Regions from separate parts of the Homo sapiens genome. Here regions 1, 3, 4, 5 and 6 are each linked to region 2. Evidence: promoter capture Hi-C in human tissues and cell types (Jung and others, 2019). All regions are on one chromosome and are shown on one strand. Each heading gives the region's core, a stretch centred on a gene start or on the middle of the fragment in contact. The rest is flanking DNA. Distances are from core to core; before and after follow the strand shown. Region 1 has its middle 160 kb from the start of NUAK1. Region 2 holds the start of NUAK1 (NUAK family kinase 1). Region 3 has its middle 190 kb from the start of CASC18. Region 4 has its middle 140 kb from the start of NUAK1. Region 5 has its middle 4.9 kb from the start of TCP11L2. Region 6 has its middle 210 kb from the start of CASC18.

Region 1 (5,107 bases), core at 2,493-4,992, 160 kb before region 2:
AAGACCTCCTGTACAAAAGCCATTAACAATACTGCTTTCAGCTCCATAGCTCACCAGGGCCAGCTCAGGCCTGGGGTTGCTGGAAAAAAGAATCTGGGGTCCTGCTCAGAGACCCAACCTCATGGTCAAATGTCAACCCATCAATACCAAGTGAGCAGAAAGAAGCCTACTGCTTAGGGCCTTTCTTTGTTTTTAATTAATTAGCTTTTTGTTCACCCATCTGAGTGGTAAAGAAATCTCTTCTGCAAGCCTTTCAAAACCCAATTCCCCCACATGTACCCACATTAGTGAAAACAAAGTAAAATCTGTGGTTTTGGCTCACTGCCTTGGCCACGTGGTCAAATAGGCCTTCGAAAGGATCCCTTTTTTTTAAGGAGTGTTTATTGAGTGACTGCTATTCATTCAACAAACATGTCATGGGTGCCTACTGTGCCTCTGGCCCTACGCTTGGTGTTAGGGACATAAAGATGAATAAAGCTCAGACCCAGAACTCAAACAGCTCCATAAGGGAGGTCAGAGATCAACATCAGTTAACACAGTGCCTGCTAGAAAAGGCTAACAGCCTAAGAGACTTCTGGGATGAGGTGCTCCGTCAGCTCGGAGCAGAAAGAGAAGGCTTCTCTTGGGCAGGAGCAGGGAAGGTTTTATCTCATGGTGGCCTTTGAGGGCTGAACAGTTTGGATGGGCTTTCTACCCATGTTTACCACATTATAATAATAGCAAACTGTGTACCACATAACCTGGCTGTGCCACACTCATCAGATACTGAACTAGGGAGATGCAAGCCCAGAATCATCAGCCCCTTGTCTTTGACAAGGGCCCTCAGGAAAGCTGCCTGACATATTTAGTCCTGAAGGCAGTAATTTAAGGGCCCATGGCTCTAACTGCCCTGGGCTCAGCCACTTGCATCAGCTGAGTTCTAAGCACTGACCATTCTAAGCACTGGCTGAACGTAACACAAAATGGTCTATGATGAAAGCCCTTTGATAACCCCATTTTGCATAAGTGAATCTGAAGCCCAGGCAATCTGGCTCTAGAGGCCATGCTCTTGACTTTGACCCTATGCAGTCTCTGCCATGCCAAACCTACCATGCCTTACACCTGTCCACCCCTCCCACCTGGGCGCTCTAAAGCAGGGGCCATGTCCTGTTCAGTTCCTTGTCTTCAGAGCCCAGCCCCATTCCTGACACAAGGTGAGCCTTAAAAAAGGCTTGAACTGTTGAGCTGAACCCACTGTCACCAGATGCTGAGGTCTCAGCATGCCAAGTGGTGGGGACCCATGGATCTATTAAGCACGCAAAACTGGGAGGCCAGTGCAGGGGCTGAGATGGATTGGGGCAGGGAGATGCAAAAACAGAAACAACCCATTTCACAAAGCCTCACTTGTGGCTTTTTGAGTCCAGGGATGAAGGCAAAGCTGAAATTTGGGAAGTGGAGGCCCCAGTCCTTTGTGACCCGGTGCACATGCGGCAGACCTGCCCTTGGGTGCACTTTTGTGGCTCTGAGGGCAGGATTTGGGCTTTAGATAATAATTGCATAGATTTGCTCAGTAAACACAGGGCAACCGTAAGATAATTACATGTTCTTACAGAGATGGGGCTCCATAATTACCTTCAGTGGCCCTAAAGTATTATTTAACACATATTCTGGTTTATAAGACAGAAATAATGATGAATTTGCCTGGTAATTACACAGCACTTCCCCACTACATATCCTGCCAGTAGCTGATACTTAGCCCATCATTAAGGGGCTAGCAGTTGCTTTGGTAAATAAGAAGTTCTTCTCATTACTGGTCTCCAGGCACATAAAGCATGATTAAAATGCCATTAGTGACATTTCTCCAAAGGGCAAATCCACAAGTCTGTGTGAGAAGCCAACTTTCCTTAGATTAAATGTTTTATTTCTGTCTTTCTGACAGGAGCAATAGAAAGGAATCAATTCTAACTCAAGCATCTGCTCCCTGAAAACTTGTCCTTAATGAAACAGAGCAGACGATGCAAAATCTGCCCTGGCTCAGGGTCACAGGACAGGAGTTGCCACTGTTTTCAAGATGAAGATGATTCTTTAACTCATCCAGATGGCTCTGCCCAGTTGAGGAGGAGCCCAGGCCTGGCGCCACCACCCTGTGGTGGGCTGGGTCAGCACATTGAGGGCCAGGGCAAACCGCAAGCTCTGGATGGGTCTTGCTGGCAGCCTCCTCCTCCAAGGATGGGGCCTGAGAGGCTCACAGAGAGCTGGGGCTCTTTGGAGAGGGGGGCACCCTGGTTCTTGGGCCACTTGCGGGTACACATGAGGAAGGAATGTACACACATCAGATACCAAAGCAGGGAGATGCAAGCCCGGAACCAGTCTCTTTGTCCATGACAAGGACCCTCGGGAAGGCTGCCTGACATATTTAGTCCGGAAGGCAGTAATTTGAGGGGCCATGGCTCAGCTCTAACTGCCCTGAGCTCAGCCATTTGCATCAGAAAGAAATTGACTCTTTGTAATCAATAGAGGGCTTAAAGAGGGTGGTCAACCACTATGGCTGGTGGGCAGGACAGGGAGTGGGCCCTCTGGAGCAAACAGGGCTCTCGTTACCATTCCATTCCAAGCTATCCCATTACTGAAGGGAACGATTCAACAGCAAATATGAACTCAATTCCAAATCCCAGTGCCAAGGCAAATGGCCAGTCCCAGCGGCCTTTTTCTTTAGTAATGAACTCCAGGCCTCTGGCCTTGACTTTGGAAGTGACTTGACTTACCATGGAAGCCAGCAGAGAGTAGCTGGGAAAAGTTCAGAGTTAAAGTCAGAAGATCTGGATTCAAATTCCAGCCCTGCTCTTCAATGGCTGTGTAATATTTGGCAGTTACCTCTATCGAACTTCAGTTTCTTCATTTGTAAAACAATTTGAAAAGACTATTAAGTTCCGTTAGGCCAGAAACCACGCCCATTCTATTCATTGCTGAAGTCCCCACACCCAGCCCAGTGCCTGGCACCTTCTGAATCTATAATCAACATTTTTAATTGAATAAGACTAGGGAAAATTCATTGCACAGTTAATTTACATAAATCCATTCATTTGCATTCAGTAAAAAGCAAAGAGAGAGAAAGAAAAATAACAATTTAAAATAATGATTTAATTAGTACTGAAGATGTTGCTTGATAATCCACTCCAGGCATCTGTGCCCCAGAGTAATACCAAAGCCAGATATGCGGAGTTGCTCTTCTCTAACTTCCTGTTTGTGAGAATCTTGTACTGAACCCATAAAGGTATACTTCAATATTGCACTGTAGAATATATGCTCTCACTAAATAATATGCAATGTGTTACTATATCCATCCCACATAATTTACAAGTATTACTGCATTTGGCTGTAATCCGAAAACTTTTTAAACTCTACTTTATGGATGATTTATAGGAGGTTCCAGGGACATTTCGATTATACCCAATTTTTGCTTTAGATTTGACCTCGACAGCCTTACCCTGCAGCATTTGGGTTATGTCACAGGGTCACTGCAAGTGAACCGGAATGTAACTATTGTGATCTAGAAACACTAGATAAAAATAGCTGGTATCCTGCTCAGTGCTTTTCTGCACAGCTACTTAGCCTGGTCAAGGTCAAGAGGCTTGATTACAACCCAGACCTCTTGACTGCCGGCTTGAGTGCTGGCAGGCACAACACGATTTCCCTCAACAAAAACTTGTTGAGTAATTATTAGGCACTCAGCAAAGTGCCAGCCACACAGTGTTGTGTGAGAGAAATATAAGGCAGAAAGCACTGGCCACCAAACGCTCAATGATTTGCACAGACGAAATAAGCACCCAGCTGGCCCCAAAGTATGCAAACCTTGGCATTCTACCTGAAGGCGGAGGCAGCTACTGGGGAGCCTGAGGTGGAGAAGCAGTCATACACATGCGGTATCACCCACCAGTCCTTGCTACCAAGACCCATTTCTTCCCTACCCTAAACTGCCTGTTAACTGTTGAATTTTTTTTCCCAATTCAAAGCTTTCTTGTTTCCATTTTATTTCACTGTGTTTCAAATGAAGAAAGGAAATACAAGGTGACTTTTGCCTTTCATATTCTAACCACATCCCACTCCATGTCCTCTACTGCCCAGGAAGTCCCTCCAGACACAACCAGCAAGGCAGAGGAGGTATGTACAATCCTACATTCATCAATGAAGTGCTACAGTGAACAGAGAAGGGGACATGGACTGAGGTCACCAGGAAAACCTCCATGGGAAGGTCAGAGTTACAGAAAGGCCTAAGATGAACTTGACCTTGAGAAGCAGACTATGAATTATATCTGTTGATTCTTCTTGTGCCACATCCATTCACCCTCATTCTCATAATAGGATCCTGATACCCTTTGGGGAAAGACCCCATTGCATGGCCCTAAGAATGAGCAGGGAACCCAGGCATGGAAAATCATGGGAATCTCATCCCCTTGACTACTGTGATTAGCTCATGGATGAACATGTTTGTGTCCCAAGATGGCCTAATCAGTCCCATCCCCAGGACTATTGCAAAAGAAGCAATCTCTTTCTATAAAGTTGCTAACCTGGTAGCCTGAAGCAGCCAGGGACAGATCATCCAGTGCCTGCCTGAAACTGAAGCCAATAAGGAAGAAAACATAGTCTAGACATGGAGAAATGGACAAAACCAGGTCCTAGAAAAATCACTGGAATCCCTGAATCCAGCAATACCTGACTTTGATGTCAAATGGTCCTGGATTTTTAAGTTACATTTTACTCAATAACTGTAGCTTGGGGATTGCTTTTTGCGGTTTTGCTTTTTGCTTAAAGCCAGTCCAAATTGGGTTTCTTTCATTTGCGGTGGAAAGAGCCCTAACAAATTGACTCATAAAAAAGAGAAATGGCGGAACAAACATGGAGAACAGCAAGAGCAAGGACCTAGGGACAAGGGTATGGGTCTTTTTCTCAAGCATATACATTGAGAATCATAGAAGATAAGAGGCCAGGGAGCATATTATGAAAATATCATGTGATAGGAAGAGGCATTTGGACTTCCCCTGAACTTTTGAGAAGCAAAATCCAGAGCTGAAATCAGGAAAATACATGCCTAGACCCAAAGGTATCTCATGAACTGGCTGGTCCAGTT
Region 2 (5,076 bases), core at 25-2,524:
CTTCAGCGGTTTGGTAGCCCTGCAACCAGGAGCTGAAACACAACTGAGCCTGCTGCAACTAAGCACAGCTATCTCTGTAGCTACCCATGCCCTGGACATTTCGGTCCTCCCAAAGCCATGATGCAAACTGTTAGAATCCTCAGGCTTGCAGTAGTCTTTATTTTTGCTCCCTAACCTTGTCTCAAAAACAGGCAAGAGTCGCCCTCCCTTGCAGTCACAGCAGTATCAGGGCGATGCAGAGTCTGAGTGGGAGGATGCAGAGCAAGGAGCTGCGGGCAGATGGGTGGAAGGGGGTAGGGACACCTACAAAACACCGGACTTGAGGGGCTAGCTCCTAGCTGGGAATGTGGTTCTTTGGAGAGTTGTGGAAATAAGACGTTTCGGGGCATGGTCTAAATGAGTGCCTGCGAGGGAGAGAGACCCCGGCCGTCCCAACGCTGCAAAGTGTTTGCAAATCTAAAACATTCCTTTGCTGCTAGGATTAAATTTTTAAAAACAAACCAAAAAATAAAATAAAATATGTGCAGACAGGATGTAACAAGTGTTTCAGGACAGAGACACGCCTGAGTCACGGGGTGCTGGAGAAAGAGTGAGGAGTCTGTCTCGGGGCTTCCCAATGAGCCCCCTCTCTGTCAAGAGAGCCCCAGGGCGCACAGACCCCCGCCTCGCACGCCCTCAGTCCCCGGCCGCGTCCACCCAGCGCCCCCCGCACCCTCCAGGATTGCCCCACTCACCACTCGGCCAGAAAACCTCTCGGTGGCCCGCTTGACTTTGCCGTAGGTGCCTTTGCCCAGGGTCTCCTGCAGCTCGTAGCGGTGCTTCAAGTTGTGCTTGTGGTGATGCCGCTTCACCCCGTGCGGCTTCCTGGGCTCCAGGGCTGCAGTCGCCCCCGCCACCGCCTCTCGGGGAGAGCCCGGCGCCCCCAGCCCCAAGTCGGGGCGGTCCCCCGCCACAGGCGCGGCGGCCCCTTCCATGTCCAAGCGCGGGGCGAGCCGGGCTACAGAGGGCAAGACCGGGCACAGCGCTGGGATGTCGGGGTCCCCACCGAGGGAAGCCGCTGTACGCTCAAGGTCGCCCCCGCAGCATCAGGGAGGCGGCCCGATACCGCTCGGACTGCGGCTCGGTCACTGGCGGCGGCGGGGACTGCACATCTGGCGCCCGCGGCGCGCACGGTCCGCGCACCGCCCCCCGGCCGCGGCGAGCTGTGGAGCGTCGGGCGAGGTGGCGGCGGTGGCAGGGGAGGCGGTGGTGTTTGCAGGAGGGAGGGGAGAGGGTGGCTCGCAGCGCAGGAGGGGGAGTGTTATGTGGGGCGCCGCGCCCCCCAACCCCTCCCCGGGAGGACGCGCAGACGGGGCGGGGGCGGCGCTCGCGCGGCCCCAGGGGAGGGGGAGCGAGGGGCGGTGCAGCCAGGGCTTCCCCCACCTCCCTGCAGCCACCCGGGGCCGGGGCCGCCGTGAGCTGGGAGGGGGATGGGAGCGTGTCGCGACTCGCCCTTTGTGCGGCGCGGCGTAGGCCACGGCGGCGGCGGCGGCGGCGGCCAGGAGTGCTTTGTCCTCGCTGGGCCGGAAGGGACCGGGAAATTCCAAGCCGGGCGCCCCCTCCCCGGGCGCTCTCGGGCTCGCCAGTCGCAGCTACCGCGGGCCCTCCGCCGCCTCGGGCTCCGGGGCCGGTCGCTCGGCCTGGATTCCTGCTGGCGCCGGGGCGGCGGTTGCGGCTGGCCGAGCCCCGGGGCCGGGGAAGAAAGAGCGCCGCGAGCCGGGGGCCGCCGGGACCTGCTCGCGATACGGCCGGGGCCGCCGCGGGCCTGGGCGCCCCTTCATTTTCTTGTAGGTGTCGCCGCAGCCTGGCGGCCGGAGCTGGGGGAGGGGGCAGGGAGGCCTGGTGTTCGGTTACAGGCGGTGACTCACGGACCTTGCCCGCCCGAGGCTGGCACCCCGCGGGGCAGAGCTGCGCCCGCCTGGGGCAACTCCGAGTCCAGGAGAACCCCAAGAGCGGCGCTTTGGCCCCGGCCCCCGCGCCCTCTCCGAAGAAAGGAGAGTCAGGGACGGAGGGAGGCCGGGAGGCTGAACCCCGGGCCCGCCGTCGAACCGCCGGCCCTCCGACACCATCTGGACCCCGGCGGGGACAGCCGCCTGGAAGGGGAGGAAGGCCAGGGACGTGGAAGAGATGGGGCTCTAAAGGCGCCGGGACGGAGCTGGCTCCCCAGAGGCGCCCACCCTGCCAGCGAAGGCCGCCATCGGAGGTGGGCAAACCAGGGACCTGGGGTGGACCAGGACCCCGGGCCTGCTGAGCAACCCGTTTGCTGAGCAGGAGGCGATTTGCAGGCCTCTTGCCTCCTTAGGCCTTGGGAGATTTCCTTTCACTGAAAGGGCCAGATCCTGGCGATGGTGACAGGAACGGTACCCCGCACGGTAAGGGTCAGGCAGGAAGGGCCTCCCACCGCGGCGTGGCTGCCGCCGTTCTAAGAAGAGACCATGAAAAATAAGGAAGAAGGCTAGAGAAAAAGAGGTCTTAGGGAAATTTTTTTTTTTAACAAGTGGTGCAATGTACCAGACTAGGGTGGGAAGAGTGAAGGCTGAAGAAGGTCTGGTGTTCTGCAGATCGCATGGCGGTTCTTTTCCACCAGTGGACCTCACTGGGGCCTCCTCTGCAGCTCTCAGGTGCAGCCCTTCCTCTACATTCCCGCCGCCTTCATTCCTGTCTACCCCTGGTCACCTTACCCCGGACTCCAGCAACAGCCCGCTCTCCCCAACCCTCCCCGGGAGCCTCCTCACTGCTGCCAGAGTAATGGCCTGAAACACTGCCCTCATCCTCCACACGTGTCTCTGCTGTACTCTGACGCGTGATATTCTTACCTGTCCAAACTTTCCTTCTACTGATATTTCACACAAACTTCCCTGCCCCTTCTTCCCTTCCCCAGGAGCAATGACAGAACACAGACACAAAGGCGCATCATGCCTATTCAATTCCTATTCTGTCCACCGCATTTGCAGGGCCTCCCTGCCACCCACCCCCATCCTGAAACTGTTCTGCTTCTATACAGTTTGTGGACGTTGTGCCTATAGATCCCACAGTCAGGATGAGTGGCATGCAGGTTGAGTCCTGGCTTCCCAGAGGATTGGCTGTGTGGCCTTGGTCAAATGACATAACCTCTCAGAGCTTCGGTTTTCTCTTAAGATATGGATTTAGCAGATCTATTGTAGAGATAAACACATTGTGTCTACAGTAGTATTTTAAAATATTTTCTACTTCTTCCCCTCCCCTGCGATGTGGTAGAAATCCACTACCCCATCCTCTTGAAGTTAGATGAGACCATCGGACTTGCTTAGGCCAATGGAATGAGAGCAGAAGTGATTGTGTTGCTTTCACTTGGAACCTTTAGGAGCCAGTGAGCAAATCCCCATGTCTTCTTTTTCCTATCTTGACAATCATGGTGGTACAAAGTTGGAGCCTCCCCAAGCCAGCCTGAGTCTCTGTGTAAAGATGGCAGAAAATCCCAGCCAATCTGCATTGGAAAAGTAGTGTCAGCAAATATTAAACTTTATTTATGTTAAGTCAGTGGGATTTGTTAAAGCAGCATAACCTGGCTTATTCTGGCTGATAGTGTTACTCCCAGATATGTGGGACTTCATCAGTATCTATTGAATCAACAGCATCATCTACCATAGGCTGGTACTGTTTTATGACAGTAAACCCTCCTCTGTAAAGTAGCTGTTTACAATCCCTATTTTCAATTGAAGAAACCGTATCAGAAAGGTTAAGTAATTTCCCAGAGGTTACACAGTTTGTAAATGGCAGGACCAGGATTTAAACCCTACCTGTCCAGTTCCAAAGCTCCCCCTTCTCCTTTCATATATGCCATGCTCCGTCTCCTTAAATGGGAAGGATGAAAAACACCCAGTACAATGCCTAGCACACAGTCATGCCCAGGCACTGGGAGTTCCTCTCCAGACTGAATTCCTACCACGTTTATAATTGGAACCACACTTCAGCACAATGCTATCAGGCATTGTGTGTGAATGTTTTCACATCGATAAAGCATTTTCTCCAACAAGAGCCCAGGCTCCTTGATTAAGAGCTTCAGATCTAGAGGCAGAGTGACTAGGTTCAAATCCCTGTTCCACCTCTTATGATCATCTTGGATAATTGTTTTCCCCCTCTATGCCTCAGTTCTCTAATCTGCAAAGTGGCGATGGTAACTTTCATGTGCGTCTGTGTGAAGAGACCACCAAACAGGCTTTGTGTGAGCAATAAAGCTTTTAATCACCTGGGTGCAGGCGGGCTGAGTCCAAAAAGAGAGTCAGCAAAGGGAGATAGGGGTGGGGCCGTTTTATAAGATTTGGGTAGGTAAAGGAAAATTACAGTCAAAGAAAGGGGGGTTGTTCTCTGGCGGGCAGGGGTGGGGGTCGTGAGGTGCTCAGTGGGGGAGCTTTTTGAGCCAGGATGAGCCAGGAAGAGCCAGGAAAAGGACTTTCACAAGGTAATGTCATCACTTAAGGCAAGGGCCGGCCATTTTCACTTCTTTTGTGGTGGAATGTCATCAGTTAAGGCAGGGCAGGGCATTTTCACTTCTTTTCTGATTCTTCAGTTACTTCAGGCCATCTGGGCGTATACGTGCAAGTCACAGGGGATGCGATGGCTTGGCTTGGGCACAGAGGCCTGACAGTAACAATGTATGTGGTATTAGCAATTACGCCAATAACACATCCCACAGGGTTGGTATGAGGATTAAGGGCTAGACTATATCCACTCAATAAATCGTGGATATTAATACGATACTTTTCATCTTCCATAGCTCCTACTAGAATTTGGAGCCTTTTTTTTTTTGCGATGGAATTTCACTCTTGTCACCCAGGCTGGAGTGCAATGGCACGATCTTGGCTCACTGCAACCTCCGCCTCCCTAGTTCAAGCAATTCCCCTGCCTCAGCCTCCCAAGTACCTGGAATTACAGGCATGTGCCACCACGCCCAGCTAATTTTTTTGTATTTTCAATAGAGACGAGGTTTCACCATGTCGGTCAGGCTGGTCTCAAACTCCTGACCACAGGTGACCCACCTGCCTAGGCCTCCCAAAG
Region 3 (4,418 bases), core at 1,033-3,532, 240 kb before region 2:
TTCAGGCATGAGCCGCCGTGCCTGGCCAAAAAGCTATTTTTAAAAAATAAATCTCTTCTAAATCGAGGCACATAGGACCCATCCAATAAAGCTACAGAGAGCTCATTGGAATCCGATTCCCATCTCCTTTAAGAGCAGGACGCATCCATCCTTCTTGCTGGAACATAATTCATTCCAACTGCCTTTGAGGCTTAATTAATGGCCACCCTTCCCTAATGGAACAGTTAATCTCTCAAATATTAATTGTGGCTTATCTCAAATTCTGGCTTTGGAAAAAAATCTTGGATATCAATCTCCAGAGTGCTGAAGCTGCCTTTGTCAATTATACAAGGTAAAAGCCCAGAGAAGCCCAGACTCCCCTTGCCCATCTGTGGTGTTTTCTGCCTGCCCTAGTTTCTGAGCTTTGACCACATGGCAGGCTTTGCGATGGGTCAGCACTTGTGGACAGCTTGGCCTATAGTGCTACTAATTATATAAGCTATACTTACCTAGAAAGTAGGGGTGGTTTCTTATGAATCTGGCTACTATGATTATAAATTTAATTCCTAAAAGTAACCCAAAATGTGCATTTTTTTTCTTTTTTTATCCTAGTCCCTGCCCTCCCCTTAAAGCAAAGCACATATGCAAAACAACAACAACAAAAATATAGATGAAAGAGGAAAACAAATCTTTTTTTTTTTTTTTGGCTTGCCTAGTTTGTGCTCTATATACAGGAACTCAGTCTTCTCCCCAGCAGCCCTGTCAGGCTGTTTCTCATTTATTTTAATGATGAGGAAACTGAGAGGGTAAGTGACTTGTCCAAAGTTCCAGAGATAAGTAGCTGAACCAAGCTGAAGTGCAGGCTTGTCTTCTCCAAAGGCCACATTGGGATCATTAGATAACAAACACAAGAACAAAGAGCCAACCTATTTAAGGTTGACAGAGCAGAAAGATGGAGAGAATCTTGGTCCTTGGTGGAAAATTGAATAGTACAACCATTTGCCTACCCTCACACTTTGTACTATATAAGAAAAACAATGCCTTACTTTGAAACCATTTTTAGTTATGTGTTCTGTTGCTTGTAGCTGAAGGCATCCTTCCTTGATACACTACCTCTATAAAGGAGCAAACAGTTCCATCCACTTGGAATGTCCCTGGCTTGGCCTATAGCGCTACTAATTATGTAAGCTATTCTTACCTAGAAAGTATGAGTGATTTCTCATGAATCTGGCTACTATTATTATGAATTTAATTCCTAAAAGTTACCCAAAATGTTCATATTTTATTTTTATTTTCGACCCTAGTCTCTGCCCTCACCTCTCCCTTAACATTCTTGGCAAGCTTCTAGACAACACACATCCTTAAGATGCAGCTTAAAAGTCACTCTGTTCTTCAACTTTCCTAAAACCACTTCACCCACAATTAGGGTTCCCTGTCTTATGCTCCTGTAGTGTCTGCCTGTTTTGTCTGTTCTATTGCACCTTCATATTATATTGCAAATACTGATTTGTGTGTCTGCCTTCCCACCAGTCTATGAACTTGCTAAGGGCACAGGTCATCCTATATCCCTAATGCCTGGCACTGTAGTCAGCACCTAAGAAATGTGGAAGAAAGGGAGGGAGGAAAAAGGGGGGGGGGCAAAAAGACAGGGAGGGAGAGAAGGAGGGAAGGAGGAAGGAAATAAGAAAAAGAGTGGAGGGAGAGAGGGAAGGAAAAAGGGAGGTAGCAAGGCAGGCAGGATGGAAGCAAGGAAGCAAGAAAGGCAGGAAAGGAGACAATCCTTTTGAAGCAGGTGTGTCTGGATATTACACAGTTTGATGATTAAGAACATGGTCCCTGGAATCTGACTTCTCAGGCTTAAAGATCTATTCTACCACTTAACATTTCTGGAATTTTGACAAAATATTTAACCTAAATATAGCATACACTATAATTACTACACATAATGTAATAACCAAACCAGGGCATTTTTGATCATGAAAGGTGATAGAAAAATGTTAAGCCAGATGAGAGGCAGGGATGACAGGTGTAAGTGGGGACAATCTCAGGCAACTCAGAACAAGTGGTCCCCATCTATCTAACCTCCCTGGGCCTCAATATCTTCACCTATAAAATGGAGATATTAATAGTACCTACTTTTTTTTCTGTATTTGTTTTTTTGAGATGGAGTCTCACTCTGTCACCCAGGCTGGAGTGCAGTGGTGCCATCTTGGCTCACTGCAACCTCTGTCTCCAGGGTTAAAGCGATTCTCCCACCTGAGCCTCCCGAGTAGCTGAGACTACAGGTGCATGCCACCATGCGTGGCTAATTTTGTATTTTTAGTAGAGATGGGTTTCACTACGGCAGCCAGGCTGGTCTCCAACTCCTGACCTCAAGTGATCCGCCCACCTTGGCCTCCCAAAGTGCTGGGGTTACAGGCGTGAGCCACTGCACCCAGCCAATAGTACATACTTTATAAGGTTGTTACGAGGATTGAGTTAAATATAGTATGGGAAGCTCTTGGACCAATTGCCTGAGCCTTAGTAAGTACTGCATAAATGTTAGCCACCTTATTATGATTACAGATGGGAACACTGAGGACCAGAAAAGTTAAGTGACTTGCCCAAGGACACTCAGCTGGCAAGTGACAAGTCAGCATGCCACCCCAAGGCACCAGATTTTAAACCCAGTGCTCTTCCCATGACATCTCAGTGACTTCTAGACCAGTCCAGGCACTCTCTCAGTTTAGTCTACAGCCATGTCAACTAAAGCCGAGGTAGGGAACTGGCTGCAAGGCAAGGAGCCAAGTCAGGGACCCTGGGAGGCTACACTACCCGTTCAACAACCCCAGCGTTCCTTCTACCCCAGGCCAGATGCTCTTTGTTCTCTACCCACCCCCGAACCCTACCCACAGAAGCCAGTACAAGAAGAGAAAAAGGAGCTAGTTCCCAAATTCCCTTCCAGCCCAAGTGGCTGAGCCCAGTCCTCATCTACTCCCTGCCCTCTCTCGCCCCCATTGCCCACCCCCCATCACATGACTGCTGAGGCATTTGGCTTGTTTAGATTTTGCTGCTGCACGTTGCTGATAAGATACTGTATTAGTCCGTTTTCACACTGCTGATAAAGACATACCCAAGACTGGGCAATTTACAAAAGAAAGAGGTTTATTGGACTTCCAGTTCCACATGGCTGGGGAGGCCTCACAATCATGGGGGAAGGCAAGGAGGAGCAAGTCACATCTTACGTGGATGCCAGCGGGCAAAGAGAGAGCTTGTGCAGAGAAAATTCCATTTTAAAAACCATCAGATCTCGTGAGACCCATTCATTACCACAAGAACAGCACGGGAATGACCCACCCCCATGATGCAATCATCTCCCACCAGGCCCCTCCCACAACATGTGGGAATTATGGGAGCTACAAGATGAGATTTGGGTGGGAACACAAAGCCAAACCGTACCAGGCAAAAACTAAAAGAGCTTCTAGGCATCCAACACCGTTATACGGGTCTGCTGATACATGCCTGAGCCCTCATTTATTATACAAACATGTTGGCTCTCAAGTAATTGGAGTTTGTTTGTCCCCTTCCCCCTACTGGATCACAGCCCCTGTAAGCACCATGAGAATATTAAGAAGGTCTCCATAAATGCTTAGTGACAACTGGAAGGTGTTGAACTCTTAAGGATTAAGACAAAGAACTTTGGAATCAGATCTAAATTTGAGTCTGACTCCGTCATTCGCAAGCAATATAACCTGGGGAAAGGTAAGCTGCCTCTCCCAGGTTTGACTTCTAATCTATAACAGGATGAGGGTAATAAGAACTGCCTTGCAGACTCATGATGAAGGAAAGAGTTCATACAAATTGAGCCCGTAGCATGCTACCTGATATGTAGGAAGTGTTCCAATAAATTTTAGTTGTTATTGTTATTCTCATCATTCTCACAGGGCCAGTGGAAATTGTTTCCTAACATCGAACTGACCGTCTACTTTTGTGGGCCCAGGGCCTTTCAGCCAGCATGGTGTGCCCATGCCTGGGGCCCAGGCAGGCAGTTGTCCTAGATTCATAAGAAAGAGCCAGAAGTCCACAAGTGCATAGCTATGAGAGCCTGAAGTTGCAGCAAAGGAGGAATAGCTTAAGGAACTCAAGAGCCAAGTCTCACCACCTCCAAAGCCATGATTTACATCTCAATCCTGCCTTCCATATCAGCCCTGGTACATGCAATTCTTTTGTTCTCAACAGCTCCACAACTGCCTATAAGGCTATTAATTAGATTTATTAAGGAGCAACTCAATTTGGCCCTGAACACCTGGAGCAAACACTGGTAGTACCACACCCAGACCTGTTCAGATCTGTATTGTATTGGCTGTGTACATCTATCACCCAGCATCTGTGTGCTTTACTTCTAACTGCTTTTATCTACGATCTTCTTTAGGGAAATACTCTTGGGCCACTGGGCCAAT
Region 4 (5,114 bases), core at 1,886-4,385, 140 kb before region 2:
TGAAATTGTTATATCAGAGGAGCAAAAAGAAAAAGAATAAAGAAGTCCTACAGGAATTATTGGACACCATCAAAGGAACCAACTTTCACATAACAGAATTTTTGAAAGAAGAGAGAGAGAGGAAAAGGCCCAGAAAGCATTTGCAGTGACCTGGATGAGATTGGAGACTATTATTCTAAGTGAAGTAACTCAGTAATGGAAAACCAAACATCGTATGTTCTCACTGGTATGTGGGAGGGAAGCTATGAGGATGCAAAGGCATAAGAATGATACAATGGACTTTGGGGACTTGGGGGGAAGAGTGGGAGGGGGCGAGGGATAAAAGACTACAAATATGGTGCAGTGTATACTTCTCAAGTGATGGGTGCACCAAAATCTCACAAATCGCCACTAAAGAACTTACTCATGTAACCAAATACCACCTGTACCTCAATAACTAATGGAAAAATAAAATAAAATAATAAAAATTTTAACAAAGGAAAGAAAATAATGGCTGACAGTTCCCCAAATCTGAGGGAAATGACAATATCCAGGTACAGGAAGCTCAGGGATCCCCAATCAAATTCAACCCAAAGAGGAGTTCACCAAAAAACAAGATAACCAAATTATCAAAAATCAAAGATAAAGAAAGAATACTGAAAGCAGCAAGAGATAAGAACATATCACATTTAAGGGAGCCCCAGTACAGCTATCAGTGGATCTCTCAGCAGAAACCTTGCAGACCAGGAGAGAGTGGAATGATATATTCAAAGCACAGAAGGGAAAAAAAAAGGCCAACCAAAGATACTTTGCTTTCTCATAAAATTTAGGTCTCTTATAAGCATGTGAAGTAGATACTGATTTTATTCCTATTTTATGGAGGAAGAAACCAAGGCCTAGGGAGGTTGAGCTACTTGTCCAAGTTCACACAGCTTGTAAATAGCAGAGCTGGGTTTTGAACTCAGTTCAACTAGCTTCCCAAGTTCTTAACCACCATGACTGCATTATCTATTTTTATAGTATCCCAAAACTATTGGTTAATACATTATTACTGATATAATAATTATAAACACAGTGACCATATCATGGGTGATGAGTTTGCTAGGCATTTTTCTAAGAATGTATTTCTTATTTAATCTTACTTATTTAATTCTTATTCCTATTCTTATTCCTTATTTAATCTAATCTACTTGCAAAATGTATTCCTTTCTGCAAGTGCTGTGGAGTGAGTACTCTTAGCCACATTTTGCAGACAAGAAAACTAGGCTAATGCAAAGTAAGTGGTAGAGCTGGGATTTGAACCCAAGCCTACTAATTCCAATGGTTGGATATCTCCAACTCCCTCCTGGTATTCATGTCGTTAGCCATTAGACTGTCTGCGATTCCTGTTTTGACTTTGCCTTTGCCTTTGCAGGTGGAATAAATACCTCTTCTACTCTCCATGTTCTGCACTACATATTTCTTGGGACCTACGGTAAGGAAGATTATTGGGAAAATACAAAGAATTAATGTTGATGCTGTCAACCTCTACCTTCTAGTATATCTATCCAGGATAGCCCTGGCTTTCTGCCCTTTTCTACAAAATCATCAGATAACACTCCCATAAGGACCTTCAAATTAACAGACACTGTAAGAATGCTGCTCTGCTAGCATACCCTTGGTTAGAAAAAACTGTGAACTGGGGTGTAATCCCATTAATGAGAAGAATGGCTTCATCAAGTGGAATCTGTTTGAAATCATCCCTGTAAACAACCCCTAAGCAACAGAAGGAGAAGGAAACATATGCAGAGAAAGAAGTCCAGATGCTAAGGAGAATGCCTTTTGGCATGTAGGTTTAGAACCTCCAAATTATATCACAAAATCTGAAAACAACCACACACACAGTCGGAAAATGAATAATTCAGAGAGATGACTCTAGGTATTTTCCAGAAATAAGTGTGTTACACTGTTCCCATTAGAATCAACATTGTCAGTGTGAGGCTTACACACTAACTGAGCTGGTAAATGCTCCTGCATATAATTTAAGCAATCAAGGAATGATAGTAATAGCCCCTAACATCTGCATAAATGTATGGTGTGCAATACTTTTTTGCATATATTATGTTACTTTATCTTTACCACAATCCATTGAGATCTACAGGACTTCCATTTAGATATAGTAAAACTAAGGTTCAGATTTTAGGTTTCTTGAATTCAGTCCATTGTTTTTTTTCTATTGCTCTTAACTGCAAATAATAATGATAGTAACAATAACAACAATAATAAAGGATGCTAAGGAAATGGCGTGGGAAAGCAGATATACTCCCTCCACAATTCTGCCTGGGTTGTGCCTGGTGTATTGGCTTATTGTACTTAATAAGAGATGATGAAAAATGAGTTAAATGGTTGTGATTCCTCCCTTCTGTATGATTACAGTTAAATAAGGCAATAGTGCTGCCCATCTAAGGAACAAACACTTATTTATTCATCAATACAAGGATATAGGGCTTTGCTGGCACATAAGAAACTTTTGTGCAAATTACAAAAAGATGCCTTGCCCACTAAACTGACACAATGCCAGGCAAAGACACAACTACTAAGAAACACAGCACTGGTCAGATATTAGCTCCCACTTGCCCTGTAGGCCAGGAACACTGTCCAGTGCACAAATTGCACAGTCAGAGGCAGAGACTAACCCTCTAGAGGAGTAGACATATATGAATATTATTACAGCAGTCTAATAAATATCATTAAAAGAGATTTGAGAAAGGCACCACAAGACATAGTGAAGGGAGTGGAGGTCCGTTTAAATTTTTACTTTCCATACTACCATTGAGGTTTGAGAAAGCCCAACTCATGCCACCCTTTTTCCCTGCTTCTGAATCAATTGAGAGAGAAAATTTTAAAAGGAGCTAACATTAGAGAAAGGTCTATGGCCAAGTAAACTTCTTCATAAGAAATCCCAGAATCAGACCAACTTACCCACTTGGTTAGTTGCAAACAGTGTTGGGTTGTCACTGGCTCCACACTGGGAACTAGCTGTGTAAAATTCAATTTTTGGAGAAGCTAAGCAGAATGTGTGTTTCCTGCAAAGTGGATTATATAACAGAGAAAAGGGGAAGAAGGGTTTGTGACACTGATTCCCAGTTCCTTTTCCCAAGTTTACTAGTGAAAAATTTACTTCTTTTCACCTGGAAGGAATGAGGGAAGAGGTAGAGAATGTCCAGTAGCCTTACAGTGGCAGAGCTCCTCCCACATGAAAGAAACACTGGGTCGGGGGAAGAAGCCCACCCTATCCTCAGCCCCCACTTAATTATGATGATGTTATTCATTTCTACCCCCAGCACTCAACCATGAGTGGGAAATAGGTGTGTTTCTCTCTCCATTTCATCTCCAGCACCTATCACAGAACTTGGCACATAGTAGGCACTCAATAGATACTTGTTGAAAAATAATGATTACACACTGACTAGTAAGATCAGAAAGGCTTCCAGAAGGGAAATGGCACTTGAGTTAAGCCTTGAAGAATCAGTAGCCAAGAAAAAGTGATTGAGGGGAATTGCGCCATAGTTCAACGGAGATAGCAGGGTCTGTGACAAGGAAAAGACAGGAGATTGTAAAATATCCAGTATGTCAATCAAATGGGTTATTGGAATGCAAAGGGAATTAAGTAAGGATGACTCATGGAATAGTGGAGTAAGGTAAGAGTTACTACAACAGCAATTGCAACTTCCCATATATGCCTCCTCCAAACCTCCGATTTAAATCCCATTTAAATGGAGATGCATCAGAGGAGAAAAACATCTTCAACAGAGCAAACAAAAGAAAAGCAAAGATTAAATTAGAAGAAGTTCTGCTGACTTCTTTGTGGGAGGGGGTCCACTGGAAAGCACATTCTGGAGTCTTGTCTCTCATGCTCCACCTTGAACCAGAGCACCAGAACCCTCAAAGCCAACTCACTGACTCATTCACACTGTCTCTCCAAACTACACAGAAACTGCCTTTTGAGATAGCTAGATCCCTGATCCTCTCTTCACCCCATCAGCTCCTCCATCTGCAGATCATTCTAGAAATACTATTCCCAGCATTAACATGGCACTATCTCTAGATATTTGGGTGTGTTGCAAAGAAAACAGTTCTGAAAGGAGTGCAAGCAGGAAGAAGGGTGAAGGAGGTGGGAGGAATTTCTCAGGGCCTTTGGTTTTCAAAGATTACATTAAAAATGCCCTAATTCAGAGAACACATCAGTAGGAGCAGAAGACCACGTTGCTCAGGCATACCTACACTTGAAGGGCACACCTGAGCTTTGGGCTTACATCCCAGAGGAGGGGCCTCCTGTTATCCTGGTGGACACTAAGTGGCACTAAAGATGCTAATTTCTCCAGCCCTCTCTACTGGCAAACTTGAGGCTAGGATAGACCTAAAGCTCTTCACGGAAGGGTCAGCAAACAGAAAGAAAAACTATACATTTATGAAAAGATTCTGCAGCTTAAAGGACAGAGCAATCTTTTGAAGACTAAAAGTAAAACAGCACTGATAATAATTCTCTACAAGGCACACAAAGTGTTTAAAAGACATGTATCTGCTTGGCATCCTTATCATCACAAGAGAACAGAAGAAGCAGATGAACTGAGATGAAGACAAAGGTGCAAAGAAAAAGAAAACTGTTGCTTCTTCAGGCATGGATTCAGCACCTACTATGTGCCAGGCACTGTCCTAGGTACTTGGGATATGAGAGTGAAACAAAGCACATACAGAGCTCTGCCCCATGGAGCTTAGCAGGGAGAAATAGACAACAAACAAGCAAGATGAATAAGGAAGTTATTTAGCAAATTAAAAGGTCATCTGTGCTGTGAAAAGAAAAGGAGTGGGGGGTCACAGAAATAGAGCAGGTAGGGGATGAGAAGTGCTGGGTTGTGAAGTTGCAGTTTGTAACTTGCATTAGGGTATTTAGGGCAGGCTGGACTGAGATGGTGGCATTTGAGGAAAGATTTGAAGGTGAGGAAGCAAGCTTGTGGGTATCTGGGGAAATGGTGTGTCAGGCAGAGGGAACAGCCCATGCAAAGCCCCAGGGGTGGAGGGTGTGTCCAGGGTGGTTGGAGTGAGCAAGGGAGGAGATGGCGACACAGGGTGAGGAGAGGCCATACCACGAGGCC
Region 5 (4,905 bases), core at 1,020-3,519, 160 kb after region 2:
TATCATCCCCTCTCTGGCTTCTATAATAAATGATAACAATTCAAATACCATTCGGAAAGCTGGATCACCAAAATGACAAATGGCCCCCACAACATTATTATCCCCATTTTATACCTGTGAGGATAAGGACATATGTATAATGAGTGGTGGAACTTGGCTGTCAACCCTCTGGTCTGTCTGAACCCAAAGCCCACCCTCTTTCCACCATACCACATTTCCTCATTATATACAATTATTTTGTACCTCAGTTGATTAATTCTTTGAAAATTTTGATCTACGTAATGCTTGTAACTTTTAAAAAGTCATTTTTTTAAACGTCCACATATCATCACAGAGGTCTTCCTTTAAATAAAGAATTCAGCTTCAGCATTAAAATTAAATTTATTTGTATAATTATGTTACACCGAGCATTTTTTTTTTTTTAGACTGAGTTTCACTCTGCCACCCAGGCAAAAGTGTAGTGGCGTGATCTTGGCTCACTGCAGCCTCTGCCTCCTGGGTTCAAGTGATTCTCCTGCCTCAGCCTCCCAAATAGCTGGGACTACAGGAGTGCGCCACCACGCCCAGCTAATTTTTTGTATTTTTAATAGAGACGGGGTTTCACCATGCTGACCAGGCTGGTCTTGAACTCCTGACCTCAGTTGATCCGCCCACCTCGGCCTCCCAAAATGCTGGGATTACAGGAATGAGCCACTGCGCCCAGCCTATACTGAGCTTTGTGGGAATTTACTGATAATATACATGCAGATGTACATGTAACATAAACAATGGCATGGCTTGGGATCCCTCTGAGGGAATTGGCCAGAAATGTTTCGTGTGTGCATGTGTGCGGGTGAATATATATCTATGTAAACAGCTTCATATTTTTGTATAAAGCTGCATTCCATTCTTGCTTTCTAGAAGGCACAGCCACCCCAGTATCTGGTCCAGGCACCCTTCTAGAGTAATGGAATGTGATTATAAATACTTTGGGCACTTAGTTGGTACAGAGCTGGTATGCTTGTTGATATGTTGTTATGGAAATTAGATAATTATGCCAATAGGTAATACTTTGCATGTGACACTGCACGTGTATATGTGTGTATTTGCGGAGAGAAGCCATGAAGTGAGTTCTTCTGGTTTCTATTCTTGACCTGCCAACTGAGTGAGTCACTGCTGAGTATCCCTTTAGTCAACATAAACCCTTAGTGCCCTAGTATATGACCTTCCTCTAGAATGCCCAGGAACTCAGGTAAAAGCTACTATTCAGGCATTTGAATGTTCAGAGCTCTCAATTTTTTTGTCTTCAAAATGTACGGCTGGGTGTGGTGGCTGATGCCTGTAATCCCAGCACTTTGGGAGGCCAAGGGGTGGATCACTTGAGGTCAGGAGTTCGAGACCAGCCTAGCCAACATGGTGAAACCCCATCTCTACTAAAAATACAAAATATTAGCCAGGCGTGATGGCACACATCTGTGATTCCAGCTACTCAGGAGGCTAAGGCAAAAGAATCGCCTGAGCTCGGGAGGCAGAGGTTGCAGTGAGCCGAGATCATGCCACTGAACTCCAATCTGGCTGACAGAGTGAGACTCTGTCTCAAAAAAAAGAAACAACAAAAAAAAGGTAGTATAATTATTAAAGTCCCATATAACTTTGAGAAAGGACATTTGTCCAGTTTATCATCAAAGAAAGGGAAGGTTTTAGAGGTCAGAGTTTGGGGCAAAAAACATGTTTAAAATGAAAGCAAACTCCATGCACTTTGGCTATCGAAGAATAGGGCTTGAGGAGAAGAACTTAAAAAGTAAAGATCAATATTCCCCCACCCAGCATTAATAATTTTGACATATCATAGTGAGGGACTTTTTGTAAATCTATTCTTTCATATATTTTACATGAAAAGCTCCATTTGTTGTCATGGCTTTCTTAAATATGAATAAAAAAGAGATGGGAAATTTGCTTATTGTGCAGTATCAATAGCCTATCTTCACTAAGGTATATTTAGGAGGACATACAATAATAAGAATAGTTGCATTGTATGGCAGTGTGAAATAGACTAGTAATATATGAATGACATTCTCATTGTAAAAGAAATAAGCTGCTTGAATGTGTACGGAATAAACCAGGAACTAACTTGCCTAAATAGCCTTCTAAACGGTTGAGATTCTTTTTAGTCCATTTCTATGTATTTCATATACACACAATGCATATGTACTGTCTCTAGTGTAAGCTCTCTCTAGCATAAATCGTGTCACCCCATAATCAGTGTTCTGTAACTCATGTTTTCATGTTGAATCGTGTACCTAAAAAGTCACATTTCTTAATCCTTCCTTTATGTTTTCTGGAGATTGCATCTTATTTTAGTAGCTCTTCCTCATGCCCATTTGACAATTTCATTTGATTTTAAAACTGAGGGCCTGTGTTCATCCATGAACACTTTAGAAAAGCAATCATTTAGAAAATGGTTGATTGCCTGCTGGCCTGGAGATGAGCTAAAGAGAGTGACTGGCTTGGTCAGAGGTCTGAGCCATCACCTGTTTGGCCTCCCATAGGTGTTCCTTTGAGCTTCAACTCTCTTTGGCCCCTCCCACTTCCTGCCCCAAAGTTGTCTTCACTGCTGGTTCTCACTCTTTCTGCTTCCCAGGGGACAACAGTGGTGCCCAGGTAAGAGGAAGGGGCCCAGGGTGGGGTGTAGGGAGCACTAAGAATATTTGTCTTTTTAGTATGTGACAGGGTCAGGGACTGGGCAGTGCCTAAATGTGAAGGTACAGGCAATTGAAATGAGAAATAACTGTTAATTTTTTTACTAATTCAGTTCAGTGGAGTCAAAAGAAAACTGGTTTTGGTGCTTTGGAAAATTGTTCAAGCATCAATTAATAGTCAAAACTGGTCAATTATCTAAATCTACCTTATCTTCCAAATCACAGGATATAGAACAAAAAAAAATTGCCTAAAAGGTGTGGTTAATTTTTTTTAATAGACCTTATTTTTAGAGCTCACAGTAAAATTGAGTAGGAGGTATGCAGTTAATTTTTGAACATTCAGGGCCTAATTCTCTAGTTGGTGTATTAGCCAAATTCATTTTCTTCTTTTTGCTTTCTATTGTATTTTCCCCCTCACTGATTTTTGGCCCTTTCTGTAGCACCTGAAGATGGACAGGGGAGAGAAAAGAAGTGGGATTCCTTTGAAAAACATTTTTTTTAATTTAATTTTTAGTTTAAAATTTTTTTTGAGACAAAGTCTCGCTCTGTTGCCCAGGCTGGAGTGCAGTGGTGAAATCTCAGCTCACTGCAACCTCCGCCCCCCAGGTTCAAGCAATTCTCCTGCCTCAGCCTCCCAAGTAGCTGGGATTACAGGTGTGTGCCACCACGCCCAACTAATTTTTTGTATTTTTAGTAGAGATGAGGTTTTGCCATGTTGGTCAGGCTGGTCTCAAACTCCTGACCTCAAGTTATCCACCTGCCTCGGCCTCCCAAACTGCTGGGATTATAGGTGTGAACCACCATGCCCGGCCATTTTTTTTTGTGAGACCAGGTTTCACTCTTGTTGCCCAGGCCGGAGTGCAATGGTGCAATCCTGGCTCACTGCAACCTCTGCCTCCTGGGTTCAAGTGATTCTCCTGCCTCAGCCTCCCAAGTATTTGGGATTAGAGGTATGCACACCATGCCTGGCTAATTTTTTGTATTTAGTAGAGACAGGGTTTCACTATGTTGGTCAGGCTGGTCTCGAACTCATGACTTCAGGTGATCCACCCACCTCAGCCTCCCAAAGTGCTGAGATTACAGGCCTGAGCCACCATGCCCAGCCCATTTTTTTGCTTTTTGTTTTTGTTTTTTTCAATTACAATGGAGTCACATCTTACAGGAGGGGTTAGGCTCTTAAGGAAGACCATGAGGTCAAAGTGCAGTGAAAATTACTCTTGAAAATTTTTTAATGAGCCATAAGACCTGGGATACACCAAGTTTTTGTCGTTTTTTGTTTGTTTGGGGCTATTTCTTTTCTTCCAGCATTGAAACAGACATAAGTTTCTTCAAGTGAGCACTGGTTGAAATAATTGATTGGCACTTAGGGGCAGGAAGATAAGCACCTTTAACCACTAGACTCATATTCTGTGTGGGGAGATCAGGACCAGTTACATAATTTGCCAGGTCCAGTGCAAAATGAAAATGCAAGGCCCCCTTTCAAAAAGCACAGTATTAAGAATCTCAACACAACAGCAGCAATGTATTAAACCAAGCACAGGGCTCTTCCAAGGGTGGGGCCTTGTGCAACTGCCCAGACTGCACGAACATGAAGCCAGCCGTGGGAAAGAAGCTTGGAACATAATGAGAAGCTCAGAAACTCAGATAAACACAGTAAGAGAAGCCTCACAACTCCCATAGAGAGAAATAGGGGACAAGATCACTGGAAGTATTTAAATTATTCTCTTGTGTTCCTCATATTCTGTCCTAGATGAGTCCCGTATAGCTAAATTTGCATTACATTAAATCAGTACAATATGCAACTCCACTAGAAAAGTTATAAGGCTGAGAGGTTGCAAATCCAACTGTAATTACATTTTTAGATTTTTGTCAATGATTTATTATAATTTAAAACTCAGATTTCAGATGTGTAAAAAGAAAATGAGTATTTCTATTTCTTCATCGAACAAAAATTTTGATCTGCCCTTAGTCTTTTGCCAAGAGTGATAGACCACATTTAGTCTACCGTGTAATTTACAGGGAGAAAAAAAAACTGTATTACTGTGAGTTCTCTAAGTGGTTCAAAAAGGTAAGTTAGAAAAACTAGGTGTAATAATATGTCTTCTTCAAATAAAATGCTAATTATTTTACTTCTAAAGAGGTTGCCTTTTCAGATTTTGTTGTTTTTTTTTTTTCCTCAGAAAGCCATAAACATAACCTGAGCAGGGAAGATTTTGTGTTATGACTG
Region 6 (5,076 bases), core at 1,098-3,597, 220 kb before region 2:
GTCTCTGCTTCTAGGAAATCTGACCTAAAACTCTTGGAAAAAAAGTTCTGTTCCCAACTATGCATTCCCTCCAGTAAGAGTATTAAACCTTCTTACTCATATTCATGTGACTCGGCCATGTATCATTTGGGAGGAGTATTTATCCTCACCTCGTTAACTCTGGGCTTGGCCAGGTGACATGCTTTGGCCAATGGATCTGAACAAATGTGTCATTTGCAACATCTGAGCAAAAGCTTTAAATGGGAGTGTGAGGTTTAGCTCAAGCTCTCTCATATTCCTAGCATCTGACATGAGCACAGCATATTCCAGTTACGGACTTTTCCTTCAGCCTGGACTCAGAATGAGAAGACCCCCCAGAACACAGCAGACTACAGCTGAGCCAAGGAGAACCTTGCACAATCCACCCCTGACAAACAGACCTACGAATAAGAAAAAATATATATATTTAGTGTTCTAAACTAAGATTTTGGAGGGTTATTTGTTACTGTAGCAAAAAGCTGACTAATACACATGGTCAAAGTTTGGGGAATGCTTTAAAGAAATATAAAGGTATTTCTTTACTGTGAGATTACTCAAATCCTACAATAGGCTCAGGTGTGTTGTGACCCTGTAAGACAGGTGTCCCAAACTCATTTGGAAAATCCTCATGGGAATGGTATTTGATAGCATAGCAATGCTACATAGTTTGTTGTCCAAAGGCTTTCTGGAGTGAATGCACATATGAATGTATGAATGATTCCTTAGTACAACTTCATATAATCATTGGACATATCCAGTGGCCCAAAGACTAATTCTGATGCCTACAACCTGGGGGGAAAATGAGGAAAATATTGATCTAGTAATGAAAGAACAAATTTGCTAATGGACCAGCCAAACCACAAACTCAAACAGCCCAGGAGCAGTCAGCACTTAATATGTCAGCAGCTCATTCACCCTTCCTCCACTCCAACACAGCTTACAAAGGCAGGACATCAAGAAAAATGACTTTGGGGAAACTCATGGAACAATGTATAAAGAAGGGAAGAAAGTCAATAATGAAATTGGTCCAATTTAAACAGCCTGGGCCAAGACCACGAGGTAAAAAACTTATTTCAAGTTACTTTCAACACTGCAAATAAGTCCCTATGATTTGTTTAGCATTCCAGAAGATAAAGAGCAATAAACAAATGCTTCAAGTGCAATACATTATTGTCAGAGTTATGTGCTTCAGTGATTCAAAGCTGGGCACAATACAATTCAACAGCACACAATAAGCTTTGTTCCTTCCATCCAACTACCGACATGCTTCTACCGTTGCATCAACAGAAAGGCTCCAGCCGTCGTAGTAGGTAATTTCTCTTCAGTCAATAGGCAAATTATAAGGGAAATAAATCCAACATTAGCATTAGTTCCAAAGGAAAGACATCTATTTTTCAATAGCCTATGTTTGCTGCCTCGGGCTTGTGTTGTCCAGACTCTTCAGAAACAATCTCTACTGTGTTTCCTTGAAGACATCTCTTTCAATACGCTTCCAAACCTTGATTGTAGGACACCCTGACTCACACTTGGCAATGCCAGTTGCTCACTCTCCAGTCCCACTGTTACCCGAATGCAGACTTTTCATCTCATGCTCAGACTTCTGCAATAGACTCTTAATTAGGCGCCCAACCTAACTCATTTGTCACTTAACATTCCTCTTTATACCTCTCTTGGCATTTTGGTTGTTACTGAAGACACATGTGAGAGGACCCATGATGTAGTGAGAATATTATCAACTTTGGAGTCAGACAGACCTCAGTTCTAATCTCAGGATGCCATTTCCAGCTGAGTCTTCTTGGGAAAGTGACTTGGTCTCCATGGGCCTTTGCTATCTCATCTGAAAATGAGACTAAGCCACAATCCAATAGGAATTTGTGTGCCTCCTGTGAGAATGTATGTAGGGTGCCTGGAACCACATAATGTGTAGACACTCTATAACTGGCAGCTGTTTAATATATAATATTCCTCCCTCTTACATTTTCCTATCTTGTCTACTACCAATCCCCTACATGAACCCAACTTTCCACCAGATTGGGCTACCTATAGAATATAGAATCTTTGGAGCTGAAAATAACTTTATCTAGTCCAAAGATAGGTTTATTTCTCCAAGTCAGCTTCACTAATTGGTAGTGGCCACTTGGAACTCTGAATTCAGAATCATCCCAATGTACTTTTGTAAATGCTATCATTGACTGGCCCATGTCATGGGAGAAGGGAGTGGTAGTAAATAAGGCAAATATATCTCACATCTGATCAAGACATTCATTCACACACACCCAGATATATCACCACTATCATCATCTAATTAGAATAGGAGCTTGGGAAACTTGTTTTGAAGCCACATTTGCATAAATATTACCTTGGTTTTCCTTAGATTATTATTTTTTCACATAATTTAGAGGAATGATGCTGATGTTGAAGATTTAATTCTCCCACCACTACCTACACTTAGGAGTTGAAATATTATGCAGCAGTAAGAAGCAATGGACTCAGTATACATACAGCAATGTAATTTATCCTAAAACACAGTGTCTAATGAGGAAAAGAAACAAAGTGAGACATACAACACGTCTTTTACAAAAATAAAAATATGTGTGCACAAAAGAACAATGAGATACCACTACACACCCATTAGAATGACTTAAATCCAAAAAACAAAAAATTGACAATACTAAATGCTGGTGACAATAGAGAGCAACAGGAATTCACATTCTGTTGGTGGGAATTCACAATAGTATATTGAAAGATAGTTTGGAAGTTTTTCTTAAATTGAAAAATAATTTTTTTTTATTTTAGATTGAATTTTTTTAATTGAAAAATAAAATTGCGTATATTCATAGCATACAGCATAATGTTTTCATATATGTATATACTGTAGAATGACTAAATCAAGCTAATTAACATATCCATTATCTCACGTACTTATTATTTTTTGTGGTGAGACTATTTTAAACCTACTCTTTTCATATTTTCAAATATACAATACATTGTCATTAACTATAATCACTGTGTTGTAGAATAGGTCTCCTGAATTTATTCCTCCTGTCTAACTGAAACTTTGTTTCCTTTGATCAACATCTCCCTAATCCCTTCACCTTCAAGACCTTGGTAACCACCATTCTACTCTCTGAGTTTGCCTTTTTTTGATTCCACATATAAGTAAGACAATACAGTATTTCTATTTCTGTGCCTGGCTTATTTTATTTAACATGCTCTAGGTTCATCCATGAGACAATTTCCTTGTTTTTTAGGCTCAATAATATTCCATTGTGCATAGATACCACATTTGCTTTATCCATTCATCTGTTGATAGACACTTAGGTTGACTCAATACCTTGGCTATTATAAGGAATGCTGCAATGGACGTGGGAGTGCGGATATCTCTTCAACATATTGATTTCATTTCTTTGAATATATACCCAGAAGTGGAATTGATGGATTAAATGGTGGTTCTATTTTTAATTTTTTGAGGAACTTCCACAGTGTTTTTGAGGAACTTCCATAGTGTTTGTCGTAATGGCTACACTAATTTACATTCCCACCAAGAGCGTACAAGAGTTCGCTTTTCTCCGTATTCCTCATCAACACTTGTTGATTCTTGCCTTTTTGATAATAGTCATCCTAACAAGTGTAAGTTCTAATTTACATTTCCCTGATGATTAATGATAATGAACATTTTTATATACCTGTTATCCATTTGTATGTCCTCTTTTGAGAAGTGTCTTTTCAGATCCTTTGCCCATTTTTTAATCAGGTTATTTGTTTTCTTGCTACTAAGTTGTTTGAGTTCTTATATATTTTGGATTTCAACATGTATGATTTGCAAATATTTTCTCCCATTCTGTAGGTTGTCTTCACTCTGTTGATTGTTTGTTGCGCATAAGCTTTTTAGTTAGGTATCATCCTATTTTTCTATTTTTGCTTTTGTTGTCTATGCTTTTGGAGTCATAGCTAAAATATCTTTGCCAAAACCAATATCAAGAAGCTTTTAACCTATGTTTGATTATAGTAGTTTTACAGTTTCAGGTCGTGCATTTAAGTATCTCGTCTTATTTTGAGTAGATTTTATATATGGTATGAGATAAGGGTCTAAGTTCATTCTTCTGCATATAGATATCCAGTTTTCCCAACACCATTTATTGAAGTGATTGCACAATGTTAAACACAATCTTACCATAAGATCCACCAGGTATACGTTTAGGTATTTACCCAACAGATATGAAAACTTACATCCACACAAAGATATGTATATGAGTGTATACAGGGACATTAATTATAATCACCAAAAACTGGAAGCAACTAAGATATACTCCAATAGGTGAATGGATAAACAAACTATGGTACATCCATATAATGGAATAATGTTGAACAATAAAAAGGAATGAGTTATCAAGTCACACAAAGACATTAATAAATCTGAGCCACATATTTCTACATGAAAGTAGTTAGTCTGAAATGGCTACATACCATAAGATTCTCTTATCTGACATTCTGTAAAAGGCAAAACCATAGAAACAGTAAATCAGTAAGTGGTTGCCAGAGGCTCAGGAGTGGAGAAAGTTGACTAAGTGAAGCACAGAGTTCTTTAGGGTGGTGAATCTACCTTATATGATGCTCTAATGGTAGAAACATGGCACTATGCATTTGTCAAAATCCATAGAACTTTATAGCACACAAAGTAAACCTTAACATATAATTTTGTTTCAATTATTTAGGAAGTTGGAATGGAATGCAAAATGTGACAAAGGAATCTAAATATATTACAAATGTATGAAACAACCTCATTGAAGGGGAATGAGAAGAATTAGATCTGGCCAAAGTAAGTCTGAAAATGAGTGGAGTCCATAAGGCTAAAGGCAAAATGAACTCTACATGGACACTGTACTCTAGTTAATAAAGTAGTTTTCTATGGGGTTATAGGTTAGTAATTTTGAAACCATTATCCATTACACTAGAACTTAACAGTTAAGCAAATGGATGGCAGATGTCAGGAGCCAGGTTTCTCACTATTGGAATCGGAGAACTCAGATAAGCAAGGGGAGTAGCCTAGAATGTGGC

What was found. Contacts are between HindIII fragments. The study calls those that stand out against the background at their distance.
Region 1: a fragment that was not itself captured here is called in contact with the fragment with the promoter of NUAK1 in region 2 in 4 of the 25 tissues and cell types used here (heart left ventricle, hippocampus, mesenchymal stem cells and 1 more).
Region 3: a fragment that was not itself captured here is called in contact with the fragment with the promoter of NUAK1 in region 2 in 2 of the 25 tissues and cell types used here (mesendoderm cells and thymus).
Region 4: a fragment that was not itself captured here is called in contact with the fragment with the promoter of NUAK1 in region 2 in 3 of the 25 tissues and cell types used here (hippocampus, mesenchymal stem cells and mesendoderm cells).
Region 5: a contact is called between a fragment that was not itself captured here and the fragment with the promoter of NUAK1 in region 2, in 2 of the 25 tissues and cell types used here (heart left ventricle and hippocampus).
Region 6: a fragment that was not itself captured here is called in contact with the fragment with the promoter of NUAK1 in region 2 in 5 of the 25 tissues and cell types used here (H1 embryonic stem cells, IMR-90 fibroblasts, adrenal gland and 2 more).

Annotation. Positions count from the first base shown.
Region 1 is chr12:105,978,577-105,983,683 of GRCh38, forward strand. No RefSeq gene overlaps it. Among named protein-coding and RNA genes, the nearest start is that of NUAK1, 160 kb to the right of the region's middle. The HindIII fragment of the contact is 6,624 bases long and covers 431-5,107 here.
Region 2 is chr12:106,137,680-106,142,755 of GRCh38, forward strand. It overlaps NUAK1 (NUAK family kinase 1), which reads right to left and starts at 1,275. Exons shown (of 7, transcript NM_014840.3): 1 at 735-1,275. The coding sequence starts at 974. RefSeq lists enhancers at 1-205, 2,597-3,216. The HindIII fragment of the contact is 8,166 bases long and covers 1-5,076 here.
Region 3 is chr12:105,892,320-105,896,737 of GRCh38, forward strand. No RefSeq gene overlaps it. Among named protein-coding and RNA genes, the nearest start is that of CASC18, 190 kb to the left of the region's middle. RefSeq lists enhancers at 3,507-4,253, 4,254-4,418. The HindIII fragment of the contact is 5,401 bases long and covers 1-4,418 here.
Region 4 is chr12:105,996,991-106,002,104 of GRCh38, forward strand. No RefSeq gene overlaps it. Among named protein-coding and RNA genes, the nearest start is that of NUAK1, 140 kb to the right of the region's middle. The HindIII fragment of the contact is 9,600 bases long and covers 1-5,114 here.
Region 5 is chr12:106,295,333-106,300,237 of GRCh38, forward strand. It overlaps a transcript of TCP11L2 not described here. Among named protein-coding and RNA genes, the nearest start is that of TCP11L2, 4.9 kb to the right of the region's middle. The HindIII fragment of the contact is 6,180 bases long and covers 1-4,905 here.
Region 6 is chr12:105,912,022-105,917,097 of GRCh38, forward strand. No RefSeq gene overlaps it. Among named protein-coding and RNA genes, the nearest start is that of CASC18, 210 kb to the left of the region's middle. The HindIII fragment of the contact is 3,209 bases long and covers 744-3,952 here.